Regions from separate parts of the Homo sapiens genome. Here regions 1, 2, 3, 5 and 6 are each linked to region 4. The links are contacts of gene promoters, found by promoter capture Hi-C in blood cells and fetal thymus (Javierre and others, 2016). All regions are on one chromosome and are shown on one strand. Each heading gives the region's core, a stretch centred on a gene start or on the middle of the fragment in contact. The rest is flanking DNA. Distances are from core to core; before and after follow the strand shown. Region 1 has its middle 190 kb from the start of GPAT3. Region 2 has its middle 220 kb from the start of GPAT3. Region 3 has its middle 140 kb from the start of GPAT3. Region 4 holds the start of NKX6-1 (NK6 homeobox 1). Region 5 has its middle 130 kb from the start of GPAT3. Region 6 has its middle 160 kb from the start of GPAT3.

Evidence for each region. The method cuts DNA at HindIII sites, captures the fragments that hold promoters and counts their contacts. A CHiCAGO score of 5 or more calls a contact.
Region 1: a contact is called between a fragment that was not itself captured here and the fragment with the promoter of NKX6-1 in region 4, in 3 of 17 cell types (M1 macrophages, M0 macrophages and monocytes). The highest score is 9.2, in M1 macrophages.
Region 2: a contact is called between a fragment that was not itself captured here and the fragment with the promoter of NKX6-1 in region 4, in 2 of 17 cell types (M1 macrophages and M2 macrophages). The highest score is 5.7, in M1 macrophages.
Region 3: a contact is called between a fragment that was not itself captured here and the fragment with the promoter of NKX6-1 in region 4, in 7 of 17 cell types (megakaryocytes, M0 macrophages, M2 macrophages and 4 more). The highest score is 9.6, in megakaryocytes.
Region 5: a fragment that was not itself captured here is called in contact with the fragment with the promoter of NKX6-1 in region 4 in 10 of 17 cell types (megakaryocytes, M0 macrophages, M1 macrophages and 7 more); the score reaches 11.1 in megakaryocytes.
Region 6: a fragment that was not itself captured here is called in contact with the fragment with the promoter of NKX6-1 in region 4 in 1 of 17 cell types (M1 macrophages); the score reaches 5.2 in M1 macrophages.

The regions. Positions count from the first base shown.
Region 1 is chr4:83,720,233-83,723,184 of GRCh38, forward strand. No RefSeq gene overlaps it. Among named protein-coding and RNA genes, the nearest start is that of GPAT3, 190 kb to the left of the region's middle. The HindIII fragment of the contact is 1,765 bases long and covers 687-2,451 here.
Region 2 is chr4:83,756,287-83,759,712 of GRCh38, forward strand. No RefSeq gene overlaps it. Among named protein-coding and RNA genes, the nearest start is that of GPAT3, 220 kb to the left of the region's middle. The HindIII fragment of the contact is 2,530 bases long and covers 729-3,258 here.
Region 3 is chr4:83,676,873-83,680,064 of GRCh38, forward strand. No RefSeq gene overlaps it. Among named protein-coding and RNA genes, the nearest start is that of GPAT3, 140 kb to the left of the region's middle. The HindIII fragment of the contact is 1,635 bases long and covers 1,110-2,744 here.
Region 4 is chr4:84,498,027-84,501,117 of GRCh38, forward strand. It overlaps NKX6-1 (NK6 homeobox 1), which reads right to left and starts at 1,266. Exons shown (of 3, transcript NM_006168.3): 1 at 1-1,266. The coding sequence starts at 202. The HindIII fragment of the contact is 5,978 bases long and covers 1-2,343 here.
Region 5 is chr4:83,660,797-83,663,976 of GRCh38, forward strand. No RefSeq gene overlaps it. Among named protein-coding and RNA genes, the nearest start is that of GPAT3, 130 kb to the left of the region's middle. The HindIII fragment of the contact is 2,952 bases long and covers 351-3,180 here.
Region 6 is chr4:83,695,140-83,698,137 of GRCh38, forward strand. No RefSeq gene overlaps it. Among named protein-coding and RNA genes, the nearest start is that of GPAT3, 160 kb to the left of the region's middle. The HindIII fragment of the contact is 3,451 bases long and covers 1-2,998 here.

The DNA.
Region 1 (2,952 bases), core at 319-2,818, 780 kb before region 4:
ATAGATCCTGCCATTTATTTTCAGTTATTTCTAGATATTTTATTTTTTATTTATTTTCACAATTCTACATGAGATTTTAAAACATTTTTGAAATGGCTTTTCTAGAAATATAGAAAAGCATTCAATTTTTGTAACTTCATCTTGGATTACTACTTTTAGTAGCTTTTTTTTTTCTGAGACGGAGTCTTATTTTGTCACCCAGGCTGGAGTACAGTGGCGCAATCTCAGCTCACTGCAACCTCCGCCTCCCAGGTTCAAGAGATTCTCCTGCCTCAGCCTCCGGAGGAGCTGGGATTACAGGTGCATGCCACCACGCCCGGCTAATTTTTGTATTTTTTGTGGAGACAGGGTGTCACCATGTTGGCCAGGCTGGTCTTGAACTCTAACCTCAAGTGGTCCACCTGCTTCCGCCTCCCAAAGTGTTGGGATTATAGGCATGTGCCACTACTTCTGGCCTTATTTGCTTTCAAAGATAGTTTTCTAATTGTTTGATTCTCTTGTACTTTCTGAGTATCTAGTCATATTGCCTGGATATCAATCTTTTATCTTTACTGGTTGTTTTTATTTATTTTATTTGTTTTTTTTAAATTGGCTAGGACTAAGTGTAGAATCTTATTTGTTGAACTTTAAATGATGCTTGTGCTGCTCCTGCATTTAATGGGACTTCTTTTTCTAGGTCACAGTTAAGCTTGAGGTTGGTTTGTGAGCTCCAATTTATTGAATGAGGATGTTGGGCTTTACATTTATTTTTATTACACTTTATCTTATTATTTCTGGCTCATCAGCCAGCTCCCAACTTATTTAAAAATTGTAAGGCTGGCAGCCTTTGGCAATGTTAGCTTCTCCTCTCACCCTGGGCCAACTACAGTATGAGAGATGTCTTCTTTCAAGAAAGTAAAATTGAACACACAGATTCTTGGACCTGCACTCCAGCATACCAACTTCCCCTGGGTTCCCTCTGTTACTTAATTAACACTGTTCAACCAGCTATAAATTCTGCACATTCTCACTCCCTCAGCCCCATTTCTCCATCTTGAATACAAAGATCCCAGCCATTTTATTAAATGCTCTGATGAAATCAAGATGGAGTAAATCTCTGGCCCTCCTGTTTGTTAGTCTGGGTTATCCAAGTGAACCCCACTTTTATTTTCCAGTGCTCACAAGACATCTAGAATTATCCTGGGATTCAACATAAAATGTTCCTTGGGTCCGCTTTATTTCTTTTGGAAATATAGATGTTTGCTCTCATCTAGTTTTGGGGAACCTTTCCCTTTCCCTTAATTTCTTGGGATTTTGACAGTAATTGTGGGATGATAATTGTGGTCTTTTTAATACTCTGGAAAGTTATTATTTTGGGTCCCGAAACTTGAATTTATTTCAAACTGCTTGCTGGGTCCTGACTATCTTCCACCTTCCCGGGGCTCTACTTCCTCTTCAACCACATCAGCGCTCTCCTCTCAGGAGTGAAAGTCATGCTGTGGATAGAGAAGGCTGAAACAAAACAGGCATTGACTAGTTCTGACTCCTCATATCTGTCACAATGAGTTGGCCTTGATATTTTGTTTTTGTGACAATAAATACAGCTTAAAAAAAGAGGCATATTTTCTCTATAGAATTTTTCTCAATCTTCAATCCATTCCAGATTTTATCTTTCAAAACAATATTCCTACAGCTTTATGCACTGAGAAAAATTTCTTCCAGATTATATCCTCTTTTCATTTATTGTACGTAAAGTTTTAAATCTGTTTATTAGTGTACACCCTTATACAGCTAACTTTTCTTTTTCACTGAAATAATTTTTTATTGTATTGTCACCTTTTGGTTGAGAATCTGGTATTCCTCCAGAGCCATTTCCCTTCATAGAATTTCTATTGACATACATACAGCAAGGGCTGGAGAGACACACATCATTGAAAGCTCATGTGATGAGAATTCAACATAGTTATTCAGAGATCTATAGGATTGTTTATTTATTTATGTTTTTGAGACAGGGTCTTACTCTGTCATCCAGGCTGGAGTGCAGTGGTGCAATCTCAGCTCACTGCAACCTCAACCTCCCAGGCTCAAGCGATTTTCCTGTTTCAGTCTCCCAAGTAGCTGAGGCAACAGGTGTGAGCCACCACACCTGGGTATTTTGCTAGTTTTTTTTTAGAGACAAAGTCTCACTATGTTGCCTAGGCTAGTCTCGAACTCCTAGGCTCAAGCAATCCTGGGCTGTGCTTCCCAAAGTATTGGGATTACAGGCATGAGCTACTGCGTCTGGCCTAGAATTGTATATATATAGTTGTATATAATATATACAGCTATTTAACATAATTTTAAAGTTATATATATAAATCGACATATTTATATGTTATATTAAAAATATATAAATTTATTTATATATACAACTTTAAAAATATATTGAACGACTCTTTTTCTCTCTTTCAACCTTAAACTTGACTAAGTATAAGCTTATTGAAGGTATTTAAAAGTGTTTGTTCACTAAATTCACACAACCTCTAAGCAATTTCGAAAGACATTAGTATTTTTAAATTGGAAAAAAAAAAGAAAGATCAATTTTAACCGACTGGAGGACCTTGCTGCAATGTGGACCTGCCTCTTTGTGGACCTGTCCTGAGGATCTGTGTTCCCCCAATGCTCCCTGTCAGGCAAGGAGTCAGTCCCGTGTTGAGGTTATTCTGCTGTGACAGATCAGCACATCTCAGCCTGTGGTTTGAGACTCACTGACACAGCAACTTGAATTTTCCCTTTGACCTTTGCAAAATTCAACTTTTGGCTTGCAGTGAAATCTGTGTTTCATTGACTGTGAAATTAAGAGAATCTCCAATGAGTAAAAAATGATTAGCTTTCACTTTTGGATGAAAACACGCCAAGGACAAACATCGATTTTGAGAGATCCTTTATAGAGCATTGCACCTTATAAAGCCTCTGTAGGAGGCAACACCAGTG
Region 2 (3,426 bases), core at 744-3,243, 740 kb before region 4:
TTTTGCTTTAGCATTTTTGCTAAATTAGGAGATCATAAATTAGTTAAGTCAATCTGCTCTTGAAATTTTTATTCCTTTTTAGATATTTTCAAATGAACACACAAAATATTTCCCACAAGCCTATATATCAGAAGTAATTTCTCAGTGGCTCGGTCAAAGCAGTATAGATAAATTTAGAAGCCAAGTGAGTTTTTCACTGAAATACTCAGTTATAAACCTAGCTTTTGAGAAGAATTAGCATGTACTTCATTTGTTTTTTTCTCATAATATCTCATTGATGACTTGGTAGAATTCAAGTTTAGTCTTGAGATATGAATCTGATAAAAGTATAGTAAATCCTGGAACTACTGGCATTTTAAGAAAATGGGAAAACAGTGCATATGAATGAATATTCAACCAAGTGCTGTTGTGAAACCTGGCCCTAAAGATTTTCAGAGAAATATTAAACTGTCAAGGACCTGCTTAGATTTGTAAACTAATCACCTGGACACAGAACATGTTGCTATTGACTGCTGGGTTCTTTGAAACTTTAAAATAACTTTATCCTCTCGTTGCACTAATTAGTTGTAGCTGTCAGCTTCATGCAGAAATCCCTTTGAGAGTTCGCTTGGGGAGTTATATCATATATATATGTGGAACATGTATGTATGTGTGTGTGTGTGTATATATATAGATTATACATATGTATATTTATATACTTTGTTGTGTTGTGTTATAAATCAATCCAAAGCTTAATAGCTTAAAACCAAAGCCATTTCTTTAACTCAGGAGTCTATTGTTCAGCAATTTGGGTAGGGCTCAGATGGTTCTTCTGCTGATCCTAACTGGACACACTCATGCATCTGTAGTCAACTGCTGGTCGCTATGCTGCTCTGCTTCTGGGGTTGACTGGTGGTGGGTGGGGTGCCAGGGATGACTGGGTCACATGTCCCTCATTATCTTGCAGGCTAGTCTGGGCTCATTCACATGGTGACTCAGAGTTCTAAGGACAGCCAGAAAGAGGACAGGCCCTACCACACAAGTGCTTATCAAGTTTCTGCTTGGATCACATTTGCTAATGTCCCATTGCCCAAGGGGAGTCTGTTGGCTGAGCCCAGAGTCAGAATGGGAGGCACTCGTGGTTGTATGGCAGGGGTCCTAGATACAGGAAAGAGATGAACTTGTGACAGTTTTACAATCTATCACAGTAATACAGATGGCTTTGGGCAGCCAGAAGTAGCTGTGGATGATGTTTGTTAATAGCTGTAAGAGTCTTTGAGAAATCATGCCATCTTGTGTAGAAAGGCAGCATGGTGTTTGGAAATACTCTTGACCTTGGATTCCAAAGAACTGGCTTCTTGTTCTGGCACTGCTACTCTTTCATTGCGTGACAATGGAAAACTTTCTGAATTTCTCTGGGTCCCTAATTATTCAACTGTTAAATTGAGGTATCATTTCTAGGATTTTAAAATTTCAAATAAATGCCTTTGTTTGTGAGATACTGAAAGATTTAGAGAAGAATTAAAAAAAATCGTAAAACCATAGAGCTCATTGAGTCCAACATCTTGCTCTTAATGATGGGGAAAATGAGGCCCAGAGAGACTTACTCAAGGCCCTAGAAAAAGTTAGTTGTGGAGCTGGCCCTAGAAGTTAGGTCTCTCTGATTTCTAGCTCACCAACATTTTCTCTATCCCTGGGTGTTTTGTCAACAAGGTATCAGGAACATATTTATTTTCAAGTACAGTTAGCATTCCACACATAAAATTCATTTAACTTACTTGAAGTTTTATTCAAAGTTTTAGGTATCATTATAGGTAAACAACTTTGAGGTATATTTGTACGTGCATGGTAGTTAGCAATGAGATATAGCATTTGAGGCTGATCTTGATGGGGTTACTCATGCATCTGTGCTCAGCTTGATAAAGACCACCTTAAAACAAAACATTTTGTGATAAGTCCAAAAAGTGCTCACTGCATTTTCTGAAATTCACTCCTCCCCCATTCTGCCAGTTGCTGCTTCTGATCCCTGATGGGTCAGGCTCAGGAGGGGAGGGTGTGGGAAGTACATGGACAAGGGATAAAGAGCACATAGAGTGGTTACTCTAGAATCTGACACCAGTGAGCTCTTTATGCAGCAGATAGACAGTAACTGGCACTTGTTCTCATGGGACCCTTTGGTGAGTTCATTAGAGGTCCTGCACTGGGGACCTCTGACTGCAGCCTCTTGAACTTCTGTTGAGGTCAATTTACTCTGTGGGGTGGTTGTCTTTGATATAAAGCTCAGCCATCTCCCCGTAGAGTCCTTTCTCCTTACTCTGTTGCAATCTAATCTAGCCATAATCTTTCAGTTTTAGACTTACACTCTTGAGAGTCAGGCACCAGTGTCTCTGTCTGTCAAATTCCTGGGGTCACTTGCCAAGTTTTTGTTGCATCTCATTGGAGAGAAAGTGCCCATTATTCTCCCCCTTTGAAGTGGGAGAGAGACACCATGCTGCTCAGGAACAATATTTTCTCTTCAATATCCTCTCTCCCCAACATCTGCATTAAAATCCCCTCTCTCCAACATCCTTAACACCTATGTGAATTCTTTGTCTCCTCTTGTGTAGCTTGAAAGTGGTAACCATATGATGTTAGCATGGTTTCCAGTCTCTCAGCACATCCAACTTACGTAGTTTAGCCCCTTATTTTAGAATGTGGGCACCTAGCACCTGTTGAATTATTTTAGCCCTTAATTCTTGCTGAAAAAGAGTATATAAGAAGAGTGACTTTAGTTTCTTCATCTGAAAGACAAAGAGGTTAGACTTCTTGCTCTTTGGACATTGCTATGGACTAATTTGTGTCCCATGCCCCCCTCCAACTTAGATGTTTAAGTCCTAACCCTCAATGTCACTGTATTTGAATATAGTGCTTTTAGGAGGTAATTAACATTAAGTAAGATCAAAAGCACGGGGCCCTAATCTGATAGAGCTGGTATCCTTATGAGAAGAAGAAAACAGAGAGAGGATGTATGTGAGGACATAGTAAGAAGGTGGTCATTTGCAAGCCAGGGATAGAGCACTCACAAGAAACTGAACCCTACTGGACATTGATCTTGGACTTTCCAGCCTTCAGAACTATGAGAAAACGCATTTCTGTTGTTCAAGCCACGCAGTCTGGTGTTTTATTATGGCAGCCTGAGCAGACTGATACGGATGTCTTTACTTCTAAAACTCTTAAACCCCACCCCCCAAATTCTAAAACTGCTCATGTCCCGTGAGAGCTCACATATGTCCAAGAAAAAGCTTGCCTCACTCCACCAGTGACATCTAGACTTAAGGAAGCTTCTTCTTGCCCTTTGAGGCCATGGGTCTGCCTTTACCCATCCTCTCCAAGCTGAAATCTTAGCCACGGCACTCACACTGTTAATGTTATCTCAGCAACTGAACAAGCTCCATTCCCTCAACTTCT
Region 3 (3,192 bases), core at 677-3,176, 820 kb before region 4:
ATTAGATTAAACTTATGAAAGTGTGTTATTTGTTCAAATCAAAAGGGTGGGGGAAGATGATGGATGATGAAAGAGTGTGATAAATGAAGAAAGCAGCTGAACTAAATTGAATGTGTATTCATCCGTTTTCACTTCATAACTAATGATAAATTGAGCATGTCACACTTAACAATACATATCTGGGCTTAAGCACACAGTTTCAGCTCCTGTTCACTAATGCCTTTTGATAGGTAGTTGAGACCAAAGAATTGAAATTTTAGTTCCTGGACTTTTGTCTGCCTGGCTCTTACCTTGGAAAACACAAAGGATACTTATTGACTGAATAAAGGAATTTATGAAATTGTTAATACTTAAAAGTTGTACTTCCTCAGGTCATGCTTATGGTATTTAAAAGTAGGAGATTTATCTTACTATCCAAGAAAAAGGATTTTTTCCTCCTTTGCAGGACCAATCCAGTTGTAGAGGTAGAAAGTACTCAGAATTGTGGAAATATTTTTCCTCCTTTTCTTTCTCAAATGTACCCATGTTTACCTTGGCAATCGATTGGAAGAAACACCCCAAAAGGCTCATTAGAGAGTCTGGGAAATTTGAAAGTGAGGGGTAAACATCAAACAGTTTACATCAGTTTCCTGAAATCTCAAGTTTTCCAATATTTCAAATCACATTGTAGTCTCTCAAGGACCATCTGAGATTTATGAAGCTGATCTTAGGGTCAGGGAGAAAGTTTGTGGAAAATGTTTCCAATCACACTGAATTAGACACATTTGCCACATAGAGTCTGGAACGGTTTATGAAAAGAATCCATTTTTTTTGCTAGAAAAGTTCAAGAGAGTTACAATATAGGATCTGACACACAGGGAATATTTCTCTGCTCTTTAGTTCTCACTGAGTTTGAATTAAAACAATGTGAAGTGAGTGGGTGTTTCTGAAAAGATTACACAACTTTTTGTTTTTCTGTTTCTGAGTTTTCTAAAAGGATTTTAGTAAGATTCCTTTTGAGTTGTGGTGACTGTTTCTAATCAGTTTTGATTTTTATCTGAATCTCATCTACAAGCCCTACCTCAAAACTTATTTAAGCATTTCCAGCTTGCGATTTTCAGTAATGATGAAGCTTTTAAGAGACCGACTATCTTTCAGATACTTTTCAGACTCTCACACTAGGGCTATGCAGTAGAAGATATTTTTGGACAAGAATTACCCTACTCCTCAGAGCAAAGGAGGCATTCTGAAAGACGGAGGTGAGACAAACTGTGGCCATGTAGGAGTTCTGAAGGGATGGATGATGCTGTTGACAGGAGTAGTTATTCAATGTTAGTTATAATACACCACTAGAAACAAAGTCTGTGGAGGTGGTTCTTAACCGTACTGGGTGGGAGAGGGAGTGGAATTTTCTTCCCTGGGGACATTTGGCAATGTCTAAAGACATTTTTGGCTGGGTGCGGTGGCTCGTGCCTGTAATCCCAGCAGTTTGGGAGGCTGAGGCAGGTGGATCACTTGAGGTCAGGAGTTCGAGACCAGCCTGGTTAACGTGGGGAAACACGGTCTGTACTAAAAATACAAAAATTAGCCAGGCATGGTGGCACGCACCTATGATCCCAGCTACTCCAGGGGCTTAGGCAAGAGAATCACTTGAACCTGGGAGGCGAAGGTTGCAGTGAACCGAGATCATGCCACTGCACTCCAGCCTGGGTGACAAAGCAAGACTCTTTCTCAAAAAAAAAAAAAAAAAGACATTTTTGTTTATTATAACATTTGGAGAGGGGTGTAGTGAGCAGAGATGCTGCTAAACGTCCTGCAATGCACAAGACGGGCTCTCATAACAATAAATTACCTGAATCATCTAGTTCAAGATGTCACTAGAGATGAGGTTGGAAAACCTCATTTAGAATGAGGCATGAATTTAAAGAATGGCAAATTAGTCAACTTGGTGAGCAACTGAAGATGAAATTTAAGGTGAGTGACAAGGCTGACATATATAAATAAGCCTAATTACATTCTTATAGTAGTACAACAAACACATCAGTGAATACTATGCCAAATGAATCCTACACTCAACAACTTGACTATAACAGTAATAACTTTAATTTAATATAAATTGGGTTGGTCTTGGATCCCAACCAAAATGATTTAATTCCTTAAAGACCCAAATAATTTTGCTCTGCTTAAGTCTTTTTCATAATGTGTTTTCTTAGAAATTGGGTTATTAAATTATAGTGAGTTTTTTTTAGGAGGTGTTATAATCTCTCCTTTTACCTAGAGAAGAATTGGAAGGGTATGCTTTGATCTTATGATTAAACTGGGAACAGAACTGAAAGCAGAATTCAGCTTTCTTGAGTGTATTGCTTGATTCTCCAACTGAAACTGCCTCCCCTTTCTAGGCCAGGGCATTGCTCTCTCTCCTGGGAGGAGATGGTCTTTAGTAATGGCAAGTTGTGTTTGGAAAAGAATATCCTGAAGGTGAGGGAAGGTGGTAAAGCCTTCAGCCATGCTAAACTATTCAAAAGAGGAGCTTAGAGGAAGAAATTGTCACACTTGTCTGAGTTCTGACGTGAAAATACATTTCAGAGCCAAGACAATTCATCTGTTAGGCTTCCTGTTGGAAGAATATTTACTCAGCTGTGGGAAGAGAGTTTCAGTGAACATCCAAGATAATGAAAGTTTGATAATACTCAATATTGTGGAAATAACCATGAATCGAATACATTCTTAGTGTCAGAATGCGAGATGATAAAGAACCTTGAAGAAGCTTCCTGGGGAGCAGAAAGCAACAGGATCCATATCAGCAGAGTTTTTGTTTTTTGTTTTTTTTTTTTTTAAATTTTTATTTCACTGGGAGACAGGGTCCTGTTTGGCAGGAGGAAGAAAAAACATGCTCATTTCACTTATTTTTGTTTCAACTCATTTTTGAAAACATTGTGATAAAATATACATGACATAAAATTTATCATTTTAACCATTTTAAGTGTACAATTTAGTGGCCTTAAGTACGTATACAATGTTGTGTAACCATCACCACTATCTAGTTCCACAATTCTTTATCACCTGAAACAGAGCTTTGTAACCATTAAAGAACAACTCCCCATTTTCCCTCCCCTCAGTCCCTAGTAGCCTCTGTTCTACTTTGTCACTATGAATTTGCCTATTCTAGATACTTACTGTAAGTGGAATCATACATTATTTGCCATTTTATGT
Region 4 (3,091 bases), core at 16-2,515:
TGTGGGTGCCCAGAGGCGGGGAGGGCGACGAGGAGGACGACGACGAGGACGAGGAGGAGGGGGGGCCGGCAGGCAGCGGGGGATACGCGGCAGGGTACAGCGGGGTCTTCATCTCGGCCATGCTGTGCAGGGCGGCCAGGGGAGGGCTGCTGAGCAGGAATGCGCTCTGCCGGGTGCCCTCCATTGCCCCCACCGCTAACATCCCACGGCCACGCCGGAGACCGTAGCCTTGCAGCGAGGGCGCTGGCTGGTGCCCCCCGCGGGGCTCAGAGGAGCCGGAAGCGCCGAGGGCGCGAGCGGAGAGGCACTCGGCGCGCCCGGAGGCGAGCTGCCAACTGAACCAAAAATGCCGCTGCCGGGAGTTGCTCGCCTAGCTGCGCAGCAGAGATGTCCAAACCCTCCACGCGGGAGGCGGCAGCTCGCCGAGAAAAGCAGGCGTCCCGGCGGGCTAGGCAGTCCTTTCGTTCCGCGAGTCCTAGATTCGATCCCTGGCTATTCTCTCTTCCTCACTTTTCCTAGCTGTTCAAAGTGCGCTACTTCTCATCTTCTGCCCCCGGGAAATAAGCAAAACAAAACCCAGGCTGGCTCCGGAGAGTTTGTAGCAAAGTTAGTTGCCGAATCTCCACTTTGAAGTTGGAGGGTGGGGGTGGCTTGCTTTCTTTGGGGAGGTTCAAAGGACGCCTTGTGCAGCCCGTGGCGCTCCTCTGATCTTACTGGGATGCTCTGCTCTTTCGGTCGCGCGGCTGATTCGCATTCGACGCTCACTGTGCCCGGGGAGAAAGCGCATCCAGCCCGCGGGAGATCTAGCCTCTGTGCGGGCTTCCTCCGCCCACGCTGCCCCGGGCTGCTGCGCCAGAAAGGGCAGTGCCACGGATCCCCGCGGCTCCCAGGTCCTCACCTCCACCCGCCTTGCCCTCTGGCCCACGGGGCACTGGAGTTGCAATATTGAAAAGAAAAAGGGGGAGGAAAAACACAGAAAAACAAAAGACTAAGTGTGAAAAGTCTGACGGCTGGGTTTCGGCGCCGCTCGTCAGTCCACTTCTGCAAACGGGCCCGGCGACCCCCGCCCCACCCCCGCTCCCTCTCTCCCTCTCACTCTCAGCCTTTGACTCTCCTCTCTGGCATTTTCTTCGCGGCTTCCCAGGCTTCGGTCTTCTAAGTCCTGTCCTCTGGCCAAACTGACCCTCTCCGCGGCTCCTCCGCTCTTTCTCTCCTTTCCTCTCTCCCTCCGGGCCTGACAGTTCAGATGAAGCTCTCAAAGGTAATAAAACATTTGCATCACTCCCTACCCCTCTTTAGCTGGGGGACGAAAGGGAGGGGGAAGTGGGGGACCAAAATGAGAACTTTGAGGGACGTCACTCCGAGGCTGCGGGGGCCGGCGAGCCGGGCGCAGGCCGGGGGCGTAACCACCGTGTCCAATAGCTCGCCGCCTCGATCCTTGCGTCGCCCCTGGGGCTCGCCCACTCGGGGGCGCCGCACCCTCTGATTGGCTGAGGCGGGCCAGGCGTAGGGCCGCGCCCGCCTAGTCCCCTCCCGCTCCCTACTTCTTTCTCCTGTGGGCGGGGCCAGGAGGGGCGGGAGCTGGTGAGTGGTGCGGTTCCGCGCTGGGGCCAGTGGCCGCCTCAATTAATTGTGCTAAATAAAATGAGAAAGGGGAGGGGGAAGCAGAGACGAAGAGGGTATTACTTTTTAAAGAGAGGAATAATGAAAACTCAGCCCTTTTATGGAAAAGCAGTTCATATTCTTCCCTTGCTTCCCCACTAGCCCGCTCGCGTCATCCTATCCCCTTCCCCCACCAGCTCTGGAGGGCGCCTCACCTCGAACCAAGTCTGGTCCCTTGTAAAATGGAGCTAATGGAGCAGGCAGCCGGCGCAGCCCTGGCCTGGCTCCTTCTTTTGAAGGGATTAATTAAAGGCCATCTGGGCTCTCCCAGAATTGTGTAAATTAATTTGTTGCTCCTTAAGCCTTATAGATGTCCTTAATCCCCTTGTAGGCCAAAGGATCGTCCTCTTCCATCTTTCCACCTCCTGCTTTCCTTTTCTGTTCTTTCTCCTCCACTTTATTTTTTTTTTCATTCCCGAGTTCCCCCCCGCCCGTCGCTTCCCACCGCGTTCATTATCATTTATGGGTTACTCAATTCGCTGAAAACTGAATCCGTTTAATAGGAATATTTATCTGTCAGATGATGTTTATACCTGAGAACAGTGAGGGAGTTTTTTCCCTTAACTTTTCTCCCTTTGATTATTGTTGTTATTTCCTTTGGGTTTACATGGGGGTAGAATCATCAAAATTCAGGCGGAAACTTTAGATACAGAAGCATCTAGGTACACCCTGGGAACTGTAAGCTTTTGAAAACCCTCTCCAAAACTCTGGCGCCTACTCCCAATTCTAGAGTTGCTACGGGAGATGGAGATGTACCAGCTCCTGGACAGTGGTGGTGGGATGTCTATCTAGAGTTTAGGAGTTGAAGGGTGGCTTCCTTTACTCTCTAAATCTCTTCCATCTCTGGCTGATCTTTACGTTCCCGACAGGGTTGAACTGCGGGCTGGAGAAGGAAAACCCTTTGACAATTTTGAGAATTCAGCATGTTAAAGTAACACACCATTGGAAGGTGGTCGCTACAGCAAATTTGGATGAGATCATTAATTACAATTTTAATGAGCAGAAAACAGAAATAAACGCAATAAATGGCTCAAGAATAAAATTTGATCAGCACCACCGACGGATGGAGTTTAGCTATTGGTGTCAAAGCGCTCATTTGGGTCCAAGCACGAAAAGCCAGGAGGGCGTACTCCGCTTCGATAACCTTCGTTTACTAAGCACTAGTTTTTAAGGGTCAGCTTGAGTTTGAGTCTGAAACTGGGGGAAGGAAGGGTTATATTTGCCAGTTTTATTTCCTTCTAAGATAGAAGCAATGTTATTTGGTCCTCCTCTTCCTTTATCTTTCTTCATTAACTTCAAGACTGGTTTAAATCTATTATTTCATGGACTTTAGAATCTGACCTGGGGTAAGGTGAAGTCCTTCGTCAGCATGAATAGTGCTAAGGAGTCAAGCCAAGACTTGCTTCAGAAGAGAGCTGATGTGCGGACC
Region 5 (3,180 bases), core at 577-3,076, 840 kb before region 4:
GTCTGCCAACAAAGTGGTACATTTCTTACCACTGATGAACCTACACTGACACATCATTATCACCTGAAGACCATAGTTTACATTAGGGTTCACGTTTTATGTTATAATGATATGTTTTGTTAGCAAAATTTCTGCTCACTTGGGCTCCTTCCTTTCATCTCCTTTTAAACTAATTACTTAGCAGGAGATTAGATTTCTTAAAGTACATCATCAGAACTTTGTCAAGGTTACAAAGGAAGAATAGGTTCACATACATGTCTAAAAAAGTTGAGAAGACAGAAAAAATCCAATTGATTTGTCAAAGAACTACATAAGCTTCTGAAATAGAAAAAAATTCTAGAAAAAGCTGAAGCTTCAAGGACAAATACCTGTAGAAAGGTTTATAGAAGTAAGGTCAGAATTACTAAAGCAGGAAATGAGATGCAACTTCCAAAGGTGAAATAGAGTATTTCTTTTTTTTCTACTCTATCAGGAGCAAGAAAAGACTAGAATGGAGTGTTGTCCTTTGATTAGATAGGAAAGAAAGAGACTCACTGATGACATCAAAAGGCCACAGGGCATTCAATGTCTTTTTTAAAAACCTTTCTGCATGATCAAGTGAATGGGCTCTGGAAATGGGTAATGCATACTTTAGGAAAATGAAAAGGGAAAACGAAGACTTGGAGGGAGATAATTTAAATAAGTGAGATCTGTAAATGTGCAGGCCCTGATGATTTGCATTCAAGGGTACGAAAAGAATTGGCTAAAGTATTGTGGACCATAAATTGAATATGAGTCAGCAGTTAGTAAGGCTGTTATTTAAAAAAGGGAACATTATTGAGAGATGGATTAACAGGAGTATGACATGAAAAGGGCAAGGATATGTTCTTGAATACTTGGCATTGCCAACCATTATTTAGAATATAATTACCAATTTTGGTCCCTGTATATTAAAGGAGAATCACAAAATGATGAATGAAACAAAAAGTAAGTGAGGAATTCCAATGGCTGTGATAAAAAGTTAAATTCTCCATTTTTATGTTATCTTAGTTAAGAGTACCAACTTCCTGCTCGTACTGACTCAGAACGCCTAGAATTTGCCTTTTAAGTGATCTCTGTCTAAGTAGCCATATCTTTAGGTTAAAGGAAGTGGGCTTGCTCCTTTTTGGAAAAGAGGCAGCTAGTGTATAAGAAAGATTATTGTGAAAACCATTCTGGCTAATTGTTCTTCATATAGGAGGGAGTTGGTATATATTGGAACTAAGAGAATTAGACCAAAAACAACAACAAAAAATATCCCCAAACCCTAAACTAATAGTGATTAAATACCAGAACTGAGTGCTAGTTTTCTCTCAAATCCTTAGCATAATAACTCAGGATCCCTATGTATACACTATTTGCCTGTGTTGTCATAGAACCCTCTGTATCTTAACTCGGTGGAAGGGCAATGTTAAGAGTTGTGATAAACAGGTGCCCATTTCAATGGGAATTCTGGTGTGATGTCAGAATTGCTCAGTTGGCAAGATTTGTTTTCTATTCTCCCTAATTAGCCTTCAATTGTCTCCTTTTCCTGCAGACCCACCCCAGGACATCTCCTTCCCGGATGCACAGGTCACTTAGGTGGCCTCTTCCTGGCAGTTCAGGGCCCTCCTGCTGGCTCTCTTTGGTGTTTTCCCCCAGGCTGCTTTCTCTGTGATGTCCCTCTATGCTTGGGCTCCCCTTCCTCACAGACCTCTCAGAACTTACCTTTCCTCTCACCCATTGCCTAGGGTCCTTTACTTGGCACTCCAAAATGACAGTTTATGAATTCTGTAAACTTATTTGAAACGGGTTAATGGTGGTTTTCCAGTGTCTCTTAGGTACTGAGTGGCACTGTGGGACTAGTGGTATGGGGGAGAACATTTTAGGTGGTGGCATATGGACGTGACATTACATAACATTGAATCACGTAGAGTGAAAATTATTTCGTTTTCAATTTCTTCTCAAGTCTTTCTGATTCAGTCAAGGATAAAGTTTCATTTTGGTGCTAGTGTGTTTTTAACCCTTGAAAATTGCTCATCTCCCTTTTAAATAAAGCAAGTGTAGCCTTCAGGCTCAAAGCCTTGGGGGCTAGAATAATTTCTTAGACTGCTTTTTGTATTTAGGTATAATATACACACTAGAAGAGGCATAAATAAAAATGTACACTTTGATTAATTATATTAGCTAGAATTTAAATTTATTTCTTTGTTCTCATTGCATTTATTTACACAGTTTCCTTTTATTTATGCTAGTGATACTGGTTTCTAGGACGGTGATTTAAAAAAAGTTTTATAAAGAAATTTATTAAGGAAAAAAAGAGTTGATTTAAGGAGAAAATATTGCTGAATTTCACTGTTTTTAAAGGTTCACATTGTGCTCCACTATTATTTTAACCTTTCTGAAATCATGACACAGCATGCAACTTACAATGTCCATGAACTAGGTCAGGCAAAGTGCTTAGAGTGGTGTAGAATCTTTAGTTGATACTTGTGGTTAAATCAAGAAAGGTCAACATCAGAGCGTTTTGGATTCAATGAAATATGATAAAAATACTACAGGTAGTGTTGCAGAACTTTGCTCCTTAGTTCAGCTGAAACTGGGTTCCTGTCACAGGACCACGAAGGATTAGGAACACAGACTCATTGAAGGGTGAGGGGAACAGAATTTATTGGGCAAAAAAAGGAAAAGAAGAAGAAGAAAAGACTCCCAGCAAAGTGAGAGGGAGTCCTGCTAACAGGCCCCCAACGTCACAGATTGATTCCAGGTCACACACATGAGCTGAAGAGGCCAGGCTCCTCCCCGACCACACGGTAAGAACTTCCTGTGGCACCACCCTGTTCTCCCAGTGCGCAGGCGGTGGGAGATTCTCTGGGGACCCTCCCCCTTATCTGCTCCTGCACCTATCAGCAGTACTCCCATATAGAGAAAAATGGGGCTGCGGTGTGCAAATACCTGAAGTTTGGGAAATAGTAGCTTAGTGACCTACCCTTCCCATCTGATGCCTTTGCATTTTAATAGGGGTTCTCTAGAGTTGGAATGATGTGGCCCCAAAGAACCCTGTGGCAAGGTTGTGGTGGGTATTGGGAAATCCTGGGGGCGTGTGTGCAAGTGAGCTTTATTTTGGATCCCCTCAATGTTCCTTGTGATATAGGAGTTAAAAAGAAATTATTTAGGCAGATA
Region 6 (2,998 bases), core at 76-2,575, 800 kb before region 4:
TTCCGTATTAAGGAAAAGACCTTAATAAAACCAAGTCCTTTGTCCATAGATTTAGTTTAACAATAGTTTCTTGGGCTCCTACTAAGTGCCCAACATAGCATTAGGAATTGAAGTCAAAGCGGAATCAAGGAGGTAATGTTGGGACCTGGAAGATGTTTATTATCTTTTCTGGATTTTGATTTGCTTAATGAAAATACTCTATCTTGATAATTTCTAGCAGTAGGATGCCATTGTCATCTTCAATTAAGCCTGTGTTTCTCAAGTATTCTTTCCAGTGCTTTTGGTGGTAGGAATAATGTAAATTTTTAAATAGTAAAAAAAGACATGATCCAGATATCAACTGAAGTCACCTTGTATATGAGATTTTTAAGGAAAGGCTTCCTAGTATTCTTTGAGAATCTCAGCAGTTGGTCAAAATTTCGCAAATTCTTGTAAATCTACATTTTAACACTCACTTTTAACTCTAAGTTCCTGTTTTCCCTGAACTTTCAATTTAATGAACATTTTATCTTGTATTTTTTTTTTATATTTAACAAATTACAGATACAGAACTTGGCCCCCTTTCCTAGCTTTCTTCCCAAAAAACTCACAGGAAACTTTTGTTTATAGCAGAATTTAGTAGACGCTTTACAATAGTGGAGGGGTTTCCTAACTCAGAGGCATAAACAGCATACCATTAAGTATTAAATATCCTGTTCTTTAAAATCCTTCAGCTATCTTGGTTAATTGGCTTCTTATGTAGGCTCCAGCCACCTGCCAGTTTACCCAGCCTTCCTTGTTTCCCTTTCTCCTTCCCTCTTCTCTCTCTTTTCTAGAGCCCTCCCATTCACCTATATTTGCCTACAGAGGTGCTTGTCTCATTTCCCTAGCCAATCCTTAATCTCAAGGTCTTATCTTTATATGTAATAGGTTTTAAAAATATTTCTTACTTAAAGACAAATTTTCTTCCTAAGAAGCACTTTAGTGACAAATGTTAAAGTAACAGTCGTTTTTCCTTGTTTTACGTAAATCTTGATAAATTAAAATATCTGGCCAGGAGCGGTGGCTTACACCTGTAATCCCAACACTTTGGGAGTTTGAGGCAGGTGGATTACAAGGTCCAGAGATCGAGACTATCCTGGCCAACATGGTGAAATCCTGTCTCTACTAAAAATACAAAAATTAGCTGGTCATGGTGACGCACACCTGTAGTCCCAGCTACTCGGGAGGCTGAGGCAGGAGAATCACTTGAACCTGGGAGAGGGAGGCTGCAGTGAGCTGAGATCACACCACTGCACTCTGGCCTGGCTACAGAGTGAGAATTCATCTCAAAAAAAAAAAAAAAAGAAAAAAACCAACTCTGTCATCTTTTCCTTCTTGTACCCACATTTTGTTTTTTGGCATTTCTAAAGTTGAAACCTCTGTCACACAAAATGCCAGGTGTAAGCCAATAGAGCATGGTGGAAACCGTGAAAAGGAACAAGTGGAACATATAAATATTTTTATACTTAAATTGGGAAAACATAACAATATCCTATATGATTTTTGGTTTAGGCTACTATGTAGGTCATTGGCAAGTAAAATGATAATTCTAGCCCCAAAAGTTAGTGTAAGAATGCAATTATTAGGATGTATGTATTTTTTGTATCTTCGAACAGAAGGTCCCAGGATTGTGAATCAATATATAGCAACATAAACTACCTAACCTTACCTTTTCCCTTTCCAAAACAGACCAACTGAGCCACCCTAAATGAAACCTTAGTTCCTTACTTTTAGGAACAAGAACATGATGAGATGAATAGATTTTTACTAAAGTAGGTATTATTCTGCATTATGTAAGCAGTAATTGTAAGAATATAAAATAATTGTGCTATTCTATAATCATCAAAAAGTTGATCTGTAGGAGCCCGAAGTTTTAACACATGCAAGAAATGTTTATGCAGTTATTAGTTTGCTAAAAGAGTGATACCGACATACACTCAACTGATCAGATTTTAATTTAGCAAGCATCATTTCTCTTCAATAAATTTACATAAAATTATGAAAAAAAATGTAGTGACAAACCTTTACAATTCCACTTAGAGTGGGTCTGCTGGTGACAAATTCAGTTCTGTTTGTCTGAAAATGTCTTTATTTTACTCTCACTTTTGAAAGACATTTTTGCAGTGTGTAGAATTCTAGACTGTAAGTTACTTCCTTTTGCAAGTTTAAAAATACCATTCTAATATTTCTGGCCCTCATTGTTTCTATTGAGAAGTCATCCTTCAGTAATATTATGGCTCTGTAATTTTCTTTTTATCCTTGGCTTTTATAGGCCTTCTTGAATCCATAGCTTTATGTTTTCCATCAGTTTTAAATAGTTCTATCATATTTTCTTCAGCTATTGCTTTTTTACATTATCTTTCTCCTTTCTGTGACTCCATGCATATTCAAACTTTTCAGTGTTCTCTGTATGTCTTATTCTCTCTATCACATTTAAAAATCTTTTCATATCTTCATACTTTAGTTCTTATTTTCTTCTGATTTTTTCCTGTTCATTCTTTTTTTAATGTAATGTACTCTGCTTTTAAATCCATTTGTTAAGATCTTATTTTTGGTTATTATAATTTGTCTTAGTTTTAGAATTTCCATGTAGTTATTTTTTATAGTTCCCAGTTCTTTACCTACAGTCTATATAGTTTCTTTTATCTTCTTGAATATAGTTTTCATAATTATATTACAGTTGCTGTGTAGTGACTACTCTTTCTCGAGCCACTGTAGGTTTTGTTCTACTGTCTATTGTTTCTGCTGTTTCTGTTTATGTTGTCTTATCTCATAATTTGCCTGGTTATTTTTGACTGCATGCAGAAAATTGTATTTGCAAAATTGTTGGGGAAAATAATTTTGAGGTTTAGAATGATAAGGTCTTTTTACATAGAGGCTCTACATTTGCTTCTACCAGGCAACAGGAATTATCTCAATAATTGAAATTTAGATTACAATCTTTTTAAAGATCATTCTTCTTCTGGATTATCCCTTC